Regions from separate parts of the Homo sapiens genome. Here regions 1, 3, 4 and 5 are each linked to region 2. The links are contacts of gene promoters, found by promoter capture Hi-C in blood cells and fetal thymus (Javierre and others, 2016). All regions are on one chromosome and are shown on one strand. Each heading gives the region's core, a stretch centred on a gene start or on the middle of the fragment in contact. The rest is flanking DNA. Distances are from core to core; before and after follow the strand shown. Region 1 overlaps FAM167A (family with sequence similarity 167 member A). Region 2 holds the start of LONRF1 (LON peptidase N-terminal domain and ring finger 1). Region 3 overlaps XKR6 (XK related 6). Region 4 overlaps XKR6 (XK related 6). Region 5 holds the start of LINC00529 (long intergenic non-protein coding RNA 529).

Evidence for each region. The method cuts DNA at HindIII sites, captures the fragments that hold promoters and counts their contacts. A CHiCAGO score of 5 or more calls a contact.
Region 1: a fragment that was not itself captured here is called in contact with the fragment with the promoter of LONRF1 in region 2 in 1 of 17 cell types (monocytes); the score reaches 5.1 in monocytes.
Region 3: a fragment that was not itself captured here is called in contact with the fragment with the promoter of LONRF1 in region 2 in 1 of 17 cell types (naive CD8 T cells); the score reaches 5.3 in naive CD8 T cells.
Region 4: a fragment that was not itself captured here is called in contact with the fragment with the promoter of LONRF1 in region 2 in 1 of 17 cell types (naive CD8 T cells); the score reaches 5.5 in naive CD8 T cells.
Region 5: a contact is called between a fragment that was not itself captured here and the fragment with the promoter of LONRF1 in region 2, in 1 of 17 cell types (total CD4 T cells). The highest score is 6.4, in total CD4 T cells.

The regions. Positions count from the first base shown.
Region 1 is chr8:11,455,015-11,457,714 of GRCh38, forward strand. All of the region lies in intron 1 of FAM167A (family with sequence similarity 167 member A), which reads right to left. Among named protein-coding and RNA genes, the nearest start is that of FAM167A, 10 kb to the right of the region's middle. RefSeq lists silencers at 1,794-1,893, 2,044-2,103. The HindIII fragment of the contact is 4,689 bases long and covers 1-2,700 here.
Region 2 is chr8:12,754,214-12,756,913 of GRCh38, forward strand. LONRF1 (LON peptidase N-terminal domain and ring finger 1) reads right to left here and starts at 1,313. Exons shown (of 12, transcript NM_152271.5): 1 at 487-1,313. The coding sequence starts at 1,207. RefSeq lists silencers at 1-41, 92-631, 528-718, 722-1,061, 1,142-1,811 and an enhancer at 787-1,606. The HindIII fragment of the contact is 11,195 bases long and covers 1-2,700 here.
Region 3 is chr8:11,188,973-11,191,672 of GRCh38, forward strand. The region is part of intron 1 of XKR6 (XK related 6); the gene reads right to left. Among named protein-coding and RNA genes, the nearest start is that of XKR6, 12 kb to the right of the region's middle. The HindIII fragment of the contact is 1,774 bases long and covers 373-2,146 here.
Region 4 is chr8:11,011,050-11,013,749 of GRCh38, forward strand. The region is part of intron 1 of XKR6 (XK related 6); the gene reads right to left. Among named protein-coding and RNA genes, the nearest start is that of MIR598, 23 kb to the right of the region's middle. The HindIII fragment of the contact is 925 bases long and covers 886-1,810 here.
Region 5 is chr8:11,281,783-11,284,482 of GRCh38, forward strand. It overlaps LINC00529 (long intergenic non-protein coding RNA 529), which reads right to left and starts at 2,249. Exons shown (of 5, transcript NR_170283.1): 1 at 2,069-2,249. RefSeq lists enhancers at 2,003-2,092, 2,183-2,242, 2,518-2,700. The HindIII fragment of the contact is 2,523 bases long and covers 9-2,531 here.

The DNA of each region.
Region 1 (2,700 bases), core at 99-2,598, 1.3 Mb before region 2:
CATTCCAAGCCTTGGTCAGAGCCGGTGTCAGGAGCCCTGACATGGAGATGACATCCTGCCGAGACCTGACCCCGGCCCCAGTGCTGCACGTGGCAGGGATGGGTTGCTGGGATATGTGTGTGTGCGTGTGTGTGTGTGTGACTGTGGTGGGGTTGTTGCCTTGCTGAGTGTGGGTGGTGGTTGCCTTGCTCTGTGTGTGTGTGTGACTGTGGTGGGGTTGTTGCCTTGCTGTGTGAGTGTGGGTGGTGGTTGCCTTGCTCTGTGTGTGTCTGGGGGGGGTGGTTACCCTCCTGGGTGTGTGTGAGTGTGGGGGGTGGTTGCCTTGCTGTGTATGAGTGTGAGGAGTGTGAGTGTGGGATGGTTGCCTTGCGTGAGTGTGATTGTGAGTGTGGGGGGTGGCTGCTCTGCTGGGTGTGTGTGAGTGTGGGGGGTGGCTGCTCTGCTGGGTATGTGTGAGTGTGGGGAGTGGTTGCCCTGATGGGTGTGTGAGTGTGAGTGTGTGGGGTGGTTGCCCTGCTGGGTGTGTGAGTCTGAGTGTGGGGGGTGGTTGCCTTGCTTTGAGTTTGAGTGTGGGATGGTTGCCTCACCTGAGTGTGAGTGTGCAGGGTGGTTGCTCTGCTGGGTGTGAGTGTTGGGGGTGGTTGCCTTGCTGTGTGTGAATGTGAGTGTGGGTGTGGGGGATGGTTGCTCTGCGGGGTGTATGAGTGTGTGAGTGTCGGGGGTGGTTGCCTTGCTGTGCATGAGTGTGAGTGTATTGGGGGTGGTTGCCCTGCTGGGGTTGTGTGAGTGTTGGGTGGTTGCCTTGCTGTGTATGAGTGTGAGTGTGAGGGTTGGTTGCCTTATGGGTATGAGTGTGAGTGTGGGGTGGTTGCCTTGCAGAGTGTGAGTGTGAGTGTGAGGGGTGGTTGCCCTGCTGGGTGTGCGTGAATGTGGGGTGGTTGCCTTGCTGTGAGTGAGTGTGGGGGGTGGTTGCCTTCTGGGTATGAGTGGGAGTGTAGGGTGGTTGCCCTGCTGGGTATGAGTGTGAGTGTGGGGTGGTTGCCTTGCTGTGTGTGAGTGTGAGTGTGGGAGGTGGTTGCCTTGCTGTGTGTGTGTGTGAATGTGGGAGGTGGTTGCCTTGCTGTGTGTGTGTGTGAATGTGGGGGGTGGTTGCCTTGCTGTGTGTGTGTGTGAATGTGGGGGGTGGTTGCCTTGCTGTGTGAGTGTGAGTGAGTGTGGGGGGTGGTTGCCTTGCTGTGTGTGTGAGTGTAAGGGTTGGTTGCCTTGTGGGTATCAGTGTGAGTGTGAGGTGGTTGCCCTGCTGGGTGTGTATGGGTGTGAGTGTGGGGTGGTTGCCCTGCTGGGTGTGTGTGTGGGGTGGTTGCCCTGCCTGGTGTGTGTGTGAGTGTGGGGGGTGGTTGCCTTGCTGGGTGTATGAGTGTGTGAGTGTGGGTACTTGCCCTGCTGTATGTGTGAGTGCTTGGGGGGTGGTTGCCCTGATGGGTGTGTGAGTGTGAGTGTGGGGGCTGGCTGCCCTGCTGGGTGTGTGAGTGTGAGTGTGGGGGGTGGTTGCATTGCTGGGTGGATGAGTGTGAGAGTGTGGGTAGCTGCCCTGCTAGGTGTGTGAATATACGAGTGTGAGGTGGTTGCTCTATTGGGTGTGTGCTCTGGGTATGGCTAGGGCTGAGTTAGTGACATGTGCAGAGCTGTTAGGGATGTAGGTGTGGCTGGGTAAGAGACATGGGCGGGGCTGGGTGAAGGACGTGGGTGGTGCTGGATTAGGGGAGTGCGGCTGGCTAAGGGAAGTGAGTGGGGCTGGGTTAGGGACGTGGGTGGGGCTGGGTTAGGGAAGTGGGCAGGGCTGAGTTAGGGAAGTGAGTTGGGCCCTGGGTTAGGGAAATGGGGGGATTGGGTTCGGGAAGTGGGTGGGGCTGGATTAGGGGTATGAGCGGGGCTGGGTTAGGGAAGTGGGCGGGGCTGGGTTAGGGATGTAGGTGGGGCTGGGTTAGGGAAGTGGGCGGGGCTGGGTTAGGGGTATGGGCGGGGCTGGGTTAAGGAAGTGGGTGGGGCTGGGTTGGGGAAGTGGGCGGGGCTGGGTTGGGGAAATGGGCGGGGCTGGGTTGGGGAAGTGGGCGGGGCTGGGTTAGGGGTGTGGGTGGGATCAGGGCTCCACAGGACAGCGCTCCTGGGGTTTTCTCCAAGCACCCCTGTGGTCTACCCTGCCGGGTAAGCATTCCCTCTGGCACATGTCCAGCCAGGACAGCACTAGCCTTCCCCCTTCCTGGAAGCCTCCTGTTTGCTGCCGGGGTTTCCCCTCCCTGCTGCACACCCTTGTGAGAACTCGGCAGTCTCTTCTGAAGGACATTGATGCTGTGCCACAATGTCATATGCTGGCTGCTTCATGCCTGGTTCTGCTTGAACCTCATCTCCACGCAAACCCCAGCCTGGGCCACAGGATGGAGCCCAGCGCTCGCCTTCCTGGTGCTTCCGGAGCTCATCACTTACTCCGTGATGTTTGTTGGTGTCTGTGTGTCCCACCCTTGAGGATGCCAGCTCCTAGCAGGCAGGGGCTTCCGAATTCTGTTCCTGACTGTGACCCCGGCACTCAGAGCAGTGCCCGGCACACAGCGGGTGCTCAGGAAACTTGCTGAGTAAGAGAGTGGGTACATGAATGAATGAAGAGGACTTTCTGGGCAGTCCATCTGGCCCTTTGTCCTTGTC
Region 2 (2,700 bases), core at 63-2,562:
AGACGCCGCCTGCCCGGCCTAGTTGCCCTCGCGGGGGATTCTCTCCCCGCCCCGGCAGTCGTTTCCCCGCGGCGGGCCCGGCCCGAGAGCCAATTCCCGGAAAGCGCGCGGCAGGAAGCGAGCGGCCGCTCGGGATAGCCCAGCTACCACCCATCCCGCGCCGGGGCGGCCTCGGTCCAGGTCACCCACTCCGCGCCGGGAGCGCGCGCCCGACAGCCAGGCCGCGGCCGAGGGAACCCCGCGCCGAGCGCCCCTCCCCGCGCCGCGTCACAGTCGGCTCCCAGGGCGATCCCCATTATGACCGAAGCACCCCGGGGCGCCGCCCCCTCCCACACCCCCCAGCACCCCGAGACCCGACACGCCAGCGGCCCAGCGGCCCCGGGGAAGCAGAGGAGACTCTCGGGGCGCAGACAAGCTCCGGGTCCCCGGCCCTCGGGGCCAGGAGGGTGCGGTCGGCCCGGCCCCGCCGCATCCCCGCGCGGTCACCTGCTCGCAGCGCCTCGCAGGCGGCGGCCAGGGCCTCCCGGTAGCGCCCCTGGTGCAGTAGCTCCCCGAGCCTGCCGGCCGCCCGGGCCCGCTCGCGCTGGCCCGGAAACCACTTCTCGGCCAGGTGGTTGAGGACGACGCTGGTTCTGAAGTCTGAAGCGGCGATGGCGGCGGCCAGAGGCGGCGGCCGCGGGGCGGTCCCTTCAGCATCAGTGGCACTGGCGGTGGCGGGCGGCAGCCGGTCCCGGCAGAGGCGGCAGCGGGCGCGGAGTTCCCTCCGCAGGCAGCGGCGGCAGTAGCTGTGGCCACAGGGCACGGTCACCGGCTCGCTCAGGAAGCCCCGGCAGCCCAGGCATCTGAGGAGCCCGCCGGCGCCGCCGTCAGCGCCTGCAACCGGGGCCGCGCTCCAGCCCAGCCCGTGGCGGAGCCGGTAGTTGAACACCAGGCAGTCCACCAGGGCGCCCAGGCACTCGGGCCTGGCCGGGGCCCCGCGGCGCAGCGCCGCCGCGAACGCCTCCAGCGCGCCCTTCAGGTGGCCGCCCAGCGCCAGCAGCTCCCCGCGGCGGAGCAGCAGCTCCCAGCGCTCCGACTCCGCGGCCGCGCGCTCCAGCCGATGGCCGCTGCCGCCGCCCACTTCCCAGAACCGGCCTCGGCCCTGCGGCGCTGGGGCCATCTCCCGACTCCCTCCTGGGGAGGTCCTCGCCACCGCCGGAGAGGACATGGCCCGCGGAGGGCTGCGCCGCCGCCGCCCGCCGCCACGGTCCCGGAGCCTCCCGGGCGCGCGGCTCCGCACGCGGCCCGCGAGCAGGGGGGCGTGGCGCGCGGACACGGCGGGGCTGCGCGCGCCCGGGAAGCCCCGAGGGCGGGGCCTGGCGAGGGCGGGGCCGGGCTCGGCGACGGCGCCCGGGACTCCCCCACGCCGCCCGCGGCCGCGCTCCCGAGGAGCCAAGCGCTGGGCCCCGCCCCTTCCGAGCCCCCTCCGGGTGGGGGACGCAGGTCGGATGATTCCTCCGTCGGAGATCTAATTGGCTTCTCCGGAAAGGAGGGCTCGGCTCGTGACGGAACAAAGCCGGAAGGACCCCGGAGCTTCAGTCCCCGCTTGCCTGTCTGCCAACGCCGCCACCTGCGGTGGCCCTCGCCCCTGCCGGGGGTTGGGGGACGCTCCCCTGCCGCGCGGGACTCCGGGTCACCACCCCTCCCCCGACGCCCCCGCCCAGGCCGGACCTGCCCCAACTCCTGGCGGGCGGGGGTCTCCCCGCGTGGCCTCGCGCTTGTGCGGGTCTGCATTTTCATAGCTCTACGCCCATGTTCCAGGTGGGCGCGCCCAAGCAGGGGGCCTGGGAGCGCACCTTCGGCAGATGACTGGGACTCTTCGGTTCTAGAGGACTCAACTTTAAATATGAACAAAAAACCCACGTTCCTGGGGCGACTCCCTCCAGAGGGCAAGGAGTTTTTCCTGGTGCCAGGTGACTGCTTGCCCGTCTTGCTTAAAACTCATCGTGGGCCCACCTCGAGGGAGAAAGCCCACAGCTTCCTCAGGTGTCTCCACACCTCAAGCACTGCCTTACAGCTGGTTAAGGTCTATATTTGGCAGTTTTAAAAGAAAACACCAAGAAACATGTTTCACATGGCGGTCACCGTATTACTACAACCCAAGCTGGCTCTGCAGTTTTGCTGACAGAAGAAAATGATCGGGTTGATATATAATGGGTGCTATTTCCCTTAAACTTCACAGCAGCAAGTTTAAAGCTCTCAGCTGAAAATACAGATTTGATGATAGGGTATTAGATCGCTAATGTTGGAAGTCACTTAGGACTTTTAGTCCTTTTTCAAATGATTGGAAACACAGGGAAAGTTATTTGTCAAAAATCACACAGCTAATACAGATTTTAAGATCACGTCTATTCCACTACTACTACGTTAGACTAATATGTAATATTTAATAAAATATGTAATATTTCATAGAAATATATGAGATTTTCAAAGTAAAAGAAGTTGCTAATTGGAAAGTTCACCTGAGCATGCTATGTATGAAATTGGTAAACGTTTAATATTTCTCTTTATAAGGAACAGGCAATTAAGGCTAAAAAATGTTTTGAGTTCATGTGTTTTCACTACACAATCAACAAGTCGTGTAACGTCAGAAAAGACAGAGTTATATTACCCTAAAGGGAATGAATAAAAAAGAGGTGCCTGAGAAAAAGCCAAGCCTCC
Region 3 (2,700 bases), core at 10-2,509, 1.6 Mb before region 2:
ATATCTTACCAGTAAACACCATCCAACTCCCCCTCATCCCCTCTCCTGGCTGTTCTCCCCACGAATCTATCAAGCAAAATGTAGGTAGGCCATTTTTCTTCTCTGCTCCCTTCTTTCCTGTCTCTAATGACACTCAGTATCTATTAGGTCATGTCTCCTCTTTCATTCACCAGTTTCTTTTTAGGAATCTTATCCTTGGCACTGATTACAACAAATATAACATTTCTGAATTTGAGACACAAAATTCACTGGATTGAAATATCAATTTCCAAGCATAATAAAATGCCTCTAACCTGGCACTTCTGAGCACCAATGGGGATCATCTGTGTTCATAATAATGACCTTGAAATACTTCAAACTTCCAAAGAAAGAAGCTTTTGGATCAAAGGAATCCTCAATTATATGTCATAATTTTAATGTTAAATGTCTTTCCTGCATTCTAAATCCAGGCATAATATATGGCAACAGCAACTCTTTGGTTAATACAGACTTTTTGCCAAGCCACTCCAGCTAAAAGGTCCATTCAGATTGTTTAAATACTGGTAATCCATTAGAATCACCTGAGGACCTTCTTTTATCCATTCCGCCCCTCTAAATCTAAGATGCCTAGTGATAAAAAGTTTACCAAAAACAAAAAACAAATTCCCAAGCAATTCTAACATATGCTCCTTCTCCTTGATAACTAACTCATAGATATTGGCAGAAATCAGCCTGTACAACTATGCTTCTCATCCCTGTCTGTGTACTGCTTAGGGAACTTTCTGAAAACCTAGATTTTTTAAATATATAGATTCTTGGGCCCATCCCAGATCTCTTGGATTACAGTCTCTTATGGTAGATCTCAAATATCTGGCTCCTCAAGTGATTCTGATGCACAGCCAAGGTTTGAAAACAGCTGCTTTGGACGGGTGCAGTGGCTCACGCCTGTAATCCCAGCACTTTGGGAGGCCAAGGAGGGCAGATCACCTGAGGTCAGCAGTTCGAGACCAGCCTGACCAACATGGTGAAACACTTTCTCTACTAAAAGTACAAAAATTAGACGGGTATGGTGGCTCATGCCTGTAATCCCAGCTACGTGGGAGGCTGAGGCAGAAGAATCACTTGAACTCAGGAGGCAGAGGTTGCAGTGAGCCGAGATCGCGCCACCGCACTCCAGCCTGGGCAACAAGAGTGAAACTGTCCCAAAAAAAAAGAAAGAAAGAAAAGAAAGAAAAGAAAGAAAGAAAGAAAGAAAAGAAAGAAAGAAAGAAAGAGAAAAGAAAAAAGAAAAAAGAAAAGAAAAGAAAGGAAAGGAAAAGAAAAGAAAGGAAAATAAAAGAAAAGAAAAGAAAACAGCTTCTTTATATCCTTGGGATACAACTGCTGTTCTCAATGTTTCCAACAGGTCAACAGAGAACCAACATATTTGAGTGCAGTATTTACATGGGACCTGTGGGGTATGCCAAACCTACATATTCCTTTGTGTAATGTGGAAGTCACGGGGTTGTAAGGTGCATCTACCCTGAGAAAGAGAATGGAGTGAGGTACTGAAAACTGTGTCCTAAGACACAGACCCAGAGGTATTAATATTACTCAGCTGTTTGATTCATCAGCAGTTACAATCAACTACAAGACTTACAAGCCTACCCTAAGCTCTGCAGAGTTTAATATTAACACATTAGACTAGACATCAGAGGTCTCAAAGAACCTCAGCTTATATACCAAGAGGCCCCAGAGGTTGAAGAATATCATTCCTCCATCTTCAATAAGCCAGACAACAACGTCCCAGAGGTAAAGCAAACTAATTCTGTCCCGCCCACAGCTCTGTGAGCTCTGGCTTCAAAAGTTTCCTCCACCAGTGCCATAGGTTACTTTATCACTTTAAGCTCACTTCTTCATCTGTAAAATGGGCACAAAATGCTTGTGAAAATTAAGTGAGACTATATATATAAACAGAATATTCAATATAGTTTCCTTTCCTCCTTAGTAATTTCTCTACGCCTCCTCCACTCTCCTTGGATTTTTGTCATACATTCTAACACACTAGCAGGGCTCACCTCAAGTTTACTGCAAGTATCACACACATGTCCTCTCCAACAACTAAACTAGGACATAGGGGGCCTTAGGAGGCACTTTATTGATCTTAGTTTCTCTAAAATGAACACGAAGCTTAAACTCATTAACTGTTTACTGGCAACCCATTCAACAGACCTGATAACTCAGCTCCTAGTTCTATTAATAGGACAGCAGTGGCTATCAAACCTTAAAGGTTAGAATTACCAGGGAGCCTGTTTAAAACACATACACCCACCAACAACAACTACTTAATAATTGATTCCGGCAAGGATTCCCAAAAGACACTAAAACCATAAGGTAAACGGTATTTAGGAAAAGAGACACTGATACTTTGCTAACATATGACCCCACAAGTTACCTACCGATTGCCAAGGGAAAAACTACCTTTATATAAAGAAATCTGGCAGTCGCAACCTTAACCAAGGGATAAAACTTAGCATCACTAATAGTGGGACAAAACACGTATGGGGCGCCTACTGATATGATGCCAACATGAAGAAAGCAGTACTTCTGACAAAAATTTGTGCCTGAATGTAATTCAGCCCCTAGATGCAACTTCAAGTTTACTAGAAATACAGAGTGCAAACGACACCTGCAAGAGACACTCAGGAAACGCAAAATATGAGCAGACAAGAGAAATGGACA
Region 4 (2,700 bases), core at 98-2,597, 1.7 Mb before region 2:
GTTTAACAGATGAGAAAGCTGAGGCTTGGGCCAGCTCAGTAACTTGCCTGAAGTCCTACAGCAGTCATCAGCAGAGCTGGGATTTGAACTTGGCTCCAAACTCATGCTCCTTTCCCTACATCACTGTCCCTGCTTCAAGGAGTCCCCACCTACAGGAATGGACTAGCACAGAAACAAGCATTTCAACAATACAGTGACATCAGTGCCATCACACAGCACGCAGGAGAGGCACAGGAACCACCAGAAAGGAAGCCCTTCTTGGGGTGGCCAGCAAGGCTTCCCGGGGGAGGTGGCATCCTGCTCTGCAGTGACAGAGTGGATAGGCTGTCACCAGAAGGGTACAGGTACACAGCGGACGAGGCTGGAAAGCAGGTGAGCACCAGGCTGAGGAGGGTCCTGAACATTTTCCTTCATTTTTTATTTGTTCATTCATTCATTCAACAAATATTTACAGAGTTTCTTCTAAGTGCCACGTCTATTCCAGACACTAAGAAAACAGCAGAGAAGAAACAGGACAAAAACCTCTGGCTATGTGGAACTTAATCTAACACGAAAGAGACAGCAAACAAATAGGTAAGTAATAGAGATGGCAATAAGTGTTGCAGAGAAGGATAGAGCAGGGAAAGGGACAGGGAATGCCTGGGGACAGAGGCTGCGATGCGGGAAGGCCTCAAAAGATGTTTGAGTAAAGAGCTGAAGGAGGAAGGGAACTGGTTGTGGGAGTGACAGGAGAAGAATATTTCAGGCAGAAGCCATTGAGCTAAGAGCTGGGACTTGCTTCTGGGTCCACTGCAGGGCAGCACATGGCACTGGGGAGGGGGATAGCATGAGGGAGGGAGGCCAGTGCAGTGTGGCAGCTCAGGTGTGCACCTGCTGGAAGCCACAAGCTTGGAGATGGTGCAGGAGGTGGCAGGGAACAAATGAGCCAAAATGCTTCCACAGGTGGGGTGTCCACATGTCTGTGACAGGAGCCCTGAGCTATTCTCAGCCCCACTAAGGACTCTGAAGAGGAGAATTTGGGACACAACAGGCAGGGCCTCGCAGTCCCCATCTAAGCAGATGGAGGAGTCCGCCTACCTCAACTGTGCCCAGGGCCAGCACTGCAGAAGCTACCACTCATCTGTCATTCAGGTCACAGGACCCCACCCCACTCCCCAGCCCTGACAGCCAGCATGGGGACAGAAGGGGCAGTAATGAACCCCCAAGCCCCTTTGGGACCTCAGCTGCTAGGGAACTGCTATGCAGATAAATTTAACCTGGCAAGTTACCTAACCTTTCTGGCTCTCCATTTCTTATTTGTAAAATGGGGATAATGACAGCACCTATATCTTAAGAAAAACTGAATGAGTTAATACATGTAAAGTGTTCATAACACCATTTGCATGTGGCAGGAGTTCAATAACTGTTAGTATCTATCATTGTGAGTGTAGTTGTTACGGCTGCTATTATCATCACCATCACCATCACCATCGACAGCAGTCCCTGGCTACATCCCTAGTCTACCCAGACATTTCCAGTACCATGGGGGAGGAAAAGAGCTGGGAAATGTAAACTATAGAAAAAGTGCCCCCCTCACCTCCCCCTAGCTTGCAGGCCCCCTCCACTGTCCTCTCCTTTTCCTCCAATCTGCATCCCCTCCTTTTTTCTGGGCTAATCTTGTTTTAATCTTTTCTTTGGATTCATCCTGGCCCCGATGTAACACATCCAGAAGTACACTAACAGCTCATTAACTGCCACAAACTAATACATTTTATCCCATGTCAGGCCATGTCTAATCAATGGCCATAATAAATGCAACTCCATTCTAACAAGCTTCTGCACTTTCAGGACACTTTTCGTCCAATGCCTTGCTGACATCCCAGATACCCCAAGGAAAAAGGTGGTGTCTTGCCAAGTTGTAGTATCTTGGCATGTAAGAGTCATGAGAGCTCTAACAAGATATTTGCCTGTAGACATGCCTTATCCTTCGGCTTGAAGATGAAACGAGGCCCAGGGAGGGGAAGTGAATTTCCCAAGGTCACACAGCAGGTTGGGTGCCAAGCTCAGATGAGAACAGGAGTTTCCAAGCTAACATGTATTAAGCCCTTAACACCATGAGGCATTTAATCCTCATAGTGACCCTAAGAGCAGATACCATCTATATCTTCATTGTACAGACAAGGGCACCATGGCTTGGACAGGTTGAAGGACTTGCCCATGGTCTCTAAGATGAGGCTGAGGAGGCTGACCTTCACCACCATGTGGTTTTCTAAAGGTTTCTCCTTTAAGGAGAGGAGAGGAGAGACAGGAGGAAGGTTTACTTTAGCCCATCACAAAGTGAGATCTAAGAACATGAACCCTGAGGGCCACAGAGGTGAAGCTTCAGGATGCCGGCTCTCATGTTTATTTGAGATATGTGTTAGGTTTCCCCAGCTGCCTCTAGGGACTCTGTCTGGGTCAGCCTGGCAGAGGTGGGTTCCAGATGGCAAAGGACTTAACTGTCTTTGTACCAGCAATTTGTTGCCACAAATTCATTGAGACACATAATATAATACGCCCCCTTTTTAAAAATTGCAGTGCCTAGATCTGGCCCCGGATCTGTGTTGCTGGTGGGAATGTCCCCATCCATTAATTGAGTGCTCCTAGAATTAGCGGGGATGGGAGGGCCTCCCCTAGCTGGTTTGGAAACCAGCACCTTCATGTTTATACCAATTCCCCACC
Region 5 (2,700 bases), core at 20-2,519, 1.5 Mb before region 2:
GTCATCCAAGCTTTCCACAAAATCCTTGGAAAGTGCTGGTAACAGTATAGGGAAGTTGCAAGCCCGGTAACTCCCGTTCCTGCTCTCACTGTTATTCCTAGCCCAACAAAAAGGCGTTTGAGTTGGATTGCTCATTTGTGTCTGGCGGTTGCAGTTAAAGGTATAATGAGGGATTGGTTGTTGAGAGCTCTCCCTCTCTCTCTCTAAATATATATATATATATACACATATATATATAGTTTGTTTGTTTTGAGACAGTCTCCCTCTGTCACCCAGGCTGGAGCACAGTGGCTCAGTCTTGGCTCACTGCAACCTCTGTCTCCAGGGTTCAAGTGATTCTCCTGTCTCAGTCTCCAGAGTAGCTGGGATTACAGGTGTGCGCCACCATACCCGGCTAATTTTTTGTATTTTTAGTAGAAACAGGGTTTCAGCATGTTGGCCAGGCTGGTCTCGAACTCCTGACCTCAGGTGATCCGCCTGCCTCGGCCTCCCAAAGTGCTGGGATTATAGGCGTGAGAAACTGCGCCCGGCCGGGAGCTATATTGATTTCGGAGGCTAAAAACCAAGTGTACAGGTTCCAGTCCAATTGGCTGGTAAACACAGTAGGAACTGGTGCTGCACAGGGAAAAGGTTCCTTGTTTTTCAAGACAAAAATTGTTTTCCATGGTGAACATGTGGGTTAGCTTGTTGTTTTCACTTTCCCAAGTGGTTAAGTTTCCTACTAAAGTGGCCAAGCGAAAATGTCAACCCAGCTAGTGGGCCCACCTTCACAGTACTTAGACTGTGCATCCTTTAAAGTGCCCTTAACTAGGGATGGTTTCCATGAAAAGCATACAGGTTTTCTAAACGATGCAGTTTGGTTAATTGCATAGCTTACATGATTGTGTGAGGGTTAATTTCTGGGGTGTGGTTGCATTGAAGACTTCAAGTTCCCACGACCTGAACAGAATTTTGGCTTCTTTCAATACAAAGTGGCATCTGGAATTTTAGCTCTGTGTATGTTGATGTTGGGCCCCTAATGGGTTTCTGTGGGAATGCACCCTCAAAAAGGTTGCTCTGATTGGACTGGAGAGGGTTTACTGCTCATCCTGTCATTTTAACCTTTGTCATTTCCATACTTTTGAAGTCTTATAAGTCATCCAGATTCATTAATTCAAAGGGAGTTCCTCCCTGGTAGTTGGAATGATAGGTCATTTTTTTCAAGGACCCAAGATCGGGCTGGGATAGGGATGGCAGTGTATCTGGATGAAGATAGGAGATAAACAAAGCCAACAGTCCTTTGCCAGAGCTGAGCTGGTGGTATTTAACAGTCTTTGCATTAAATTTAAAGTTCTTAATAAATACCCAGAATCTATTAATTGCCAGAGGGGTAAAGTGAAGCTCTGTTGTAAAATAAAGCTGATTCCCTGTATGCGGTGTCCCTGTGTATACTGGGTGTATACTGGGTGTCCATTATGGAACAAAAAAAAAATACTTATTTGCTATTTTGTTCTATAGAATGGGAACTTCAGGGGGTGGATACCTGTGCTGTCAGGAATGCTAGTTATAAAAATGAATTAAAACACTTCATATATTACAAAGGAAGTGATTCCATCTATTTGGACGAAAGCAATTAAACTGCAAAAATATAAAAAATGGCAACTATTATTCAGTCTACAGTAACTATGCAACAAAGACACCAAGGAAAGTTGGTAGGCATTTACGTATCTCACTTAAAACAAGTCTATAAAGTGGTTTATTTTAAGAAGGGTACATTTTAAGAAGGACAAAATCAAAAGCATGGACAAGTGTTGGATGAGCTGATGAGGTTGTGGCAATTTACTTTGTGAATACTGTGAGAGTTTGTCCAACTCGCTGTGCTTAGGTACTAGATGGTGAGGATTTAAAAGGTCAATGAAGTCACAGCAGACCAGCACTCAAACATATTTCTCTTCTATTTCCTACTTTTGAATAAAAATGTCAGAAGTGGGCGGTGGGAAAGGAACAAGCAAAGGAGTAATTATTTGAATAAATTTTTGGCGAAACGTGGGTGTCTGACGGGGAGGCTGTGCGGTGGTGACCAACGCACCCATGCGCTGGGTTTCACAGATGCAGACTGAAGTCCAGGCTCTGCTGCAGATTAACGGGGTGGCCGCCAGCAAGTCAAGTGACTTGCTCTTCTGTGCACTGCATGTACTTGGGTTCCTCTCACAGGTATTCCTGTTTTTCCTCTTTCTTGCTCCAGGTTACACCTCGTGGCGCGGCGCTCTCGGAGAGCCTGTGGAGTGGCCCTGTGTCCCTCCCTGACCCCTGGAGGATTCCGTAAGGTCACAGTCACCGCCTCCATCCCCTACTTGCCATGTCTTCAGGGCTAATGCATAACAATTATCACAATTTACAGCAGCCCCACGCTCTGAAGAGCTTCTGGAGGGGATACTACTCAAGCGGAGGAAGGCAAGACAGGGACCTCCTCCCTCTTCCCGGACCTCTTCTGATAAGGAATATTTGTAGGTGGTTAAGAAAGGCAGCGGGAGGGCGTGAAGGCAAAGACAAGCTTTTTTTCTCGTAGGAACACACATCTTCTGGTCTGGCTGTGTTTCCGGAGGCATTTCCAGAGGACCTAGCGAGGACCAACTTCCGGCTGCGACTTCCGCGTCTTCCGAGTTTCGAGACCTGCTGCTTCCGCCCGGAGTTGTTGTGGGCTCCAGCAGCGAGTAGCCA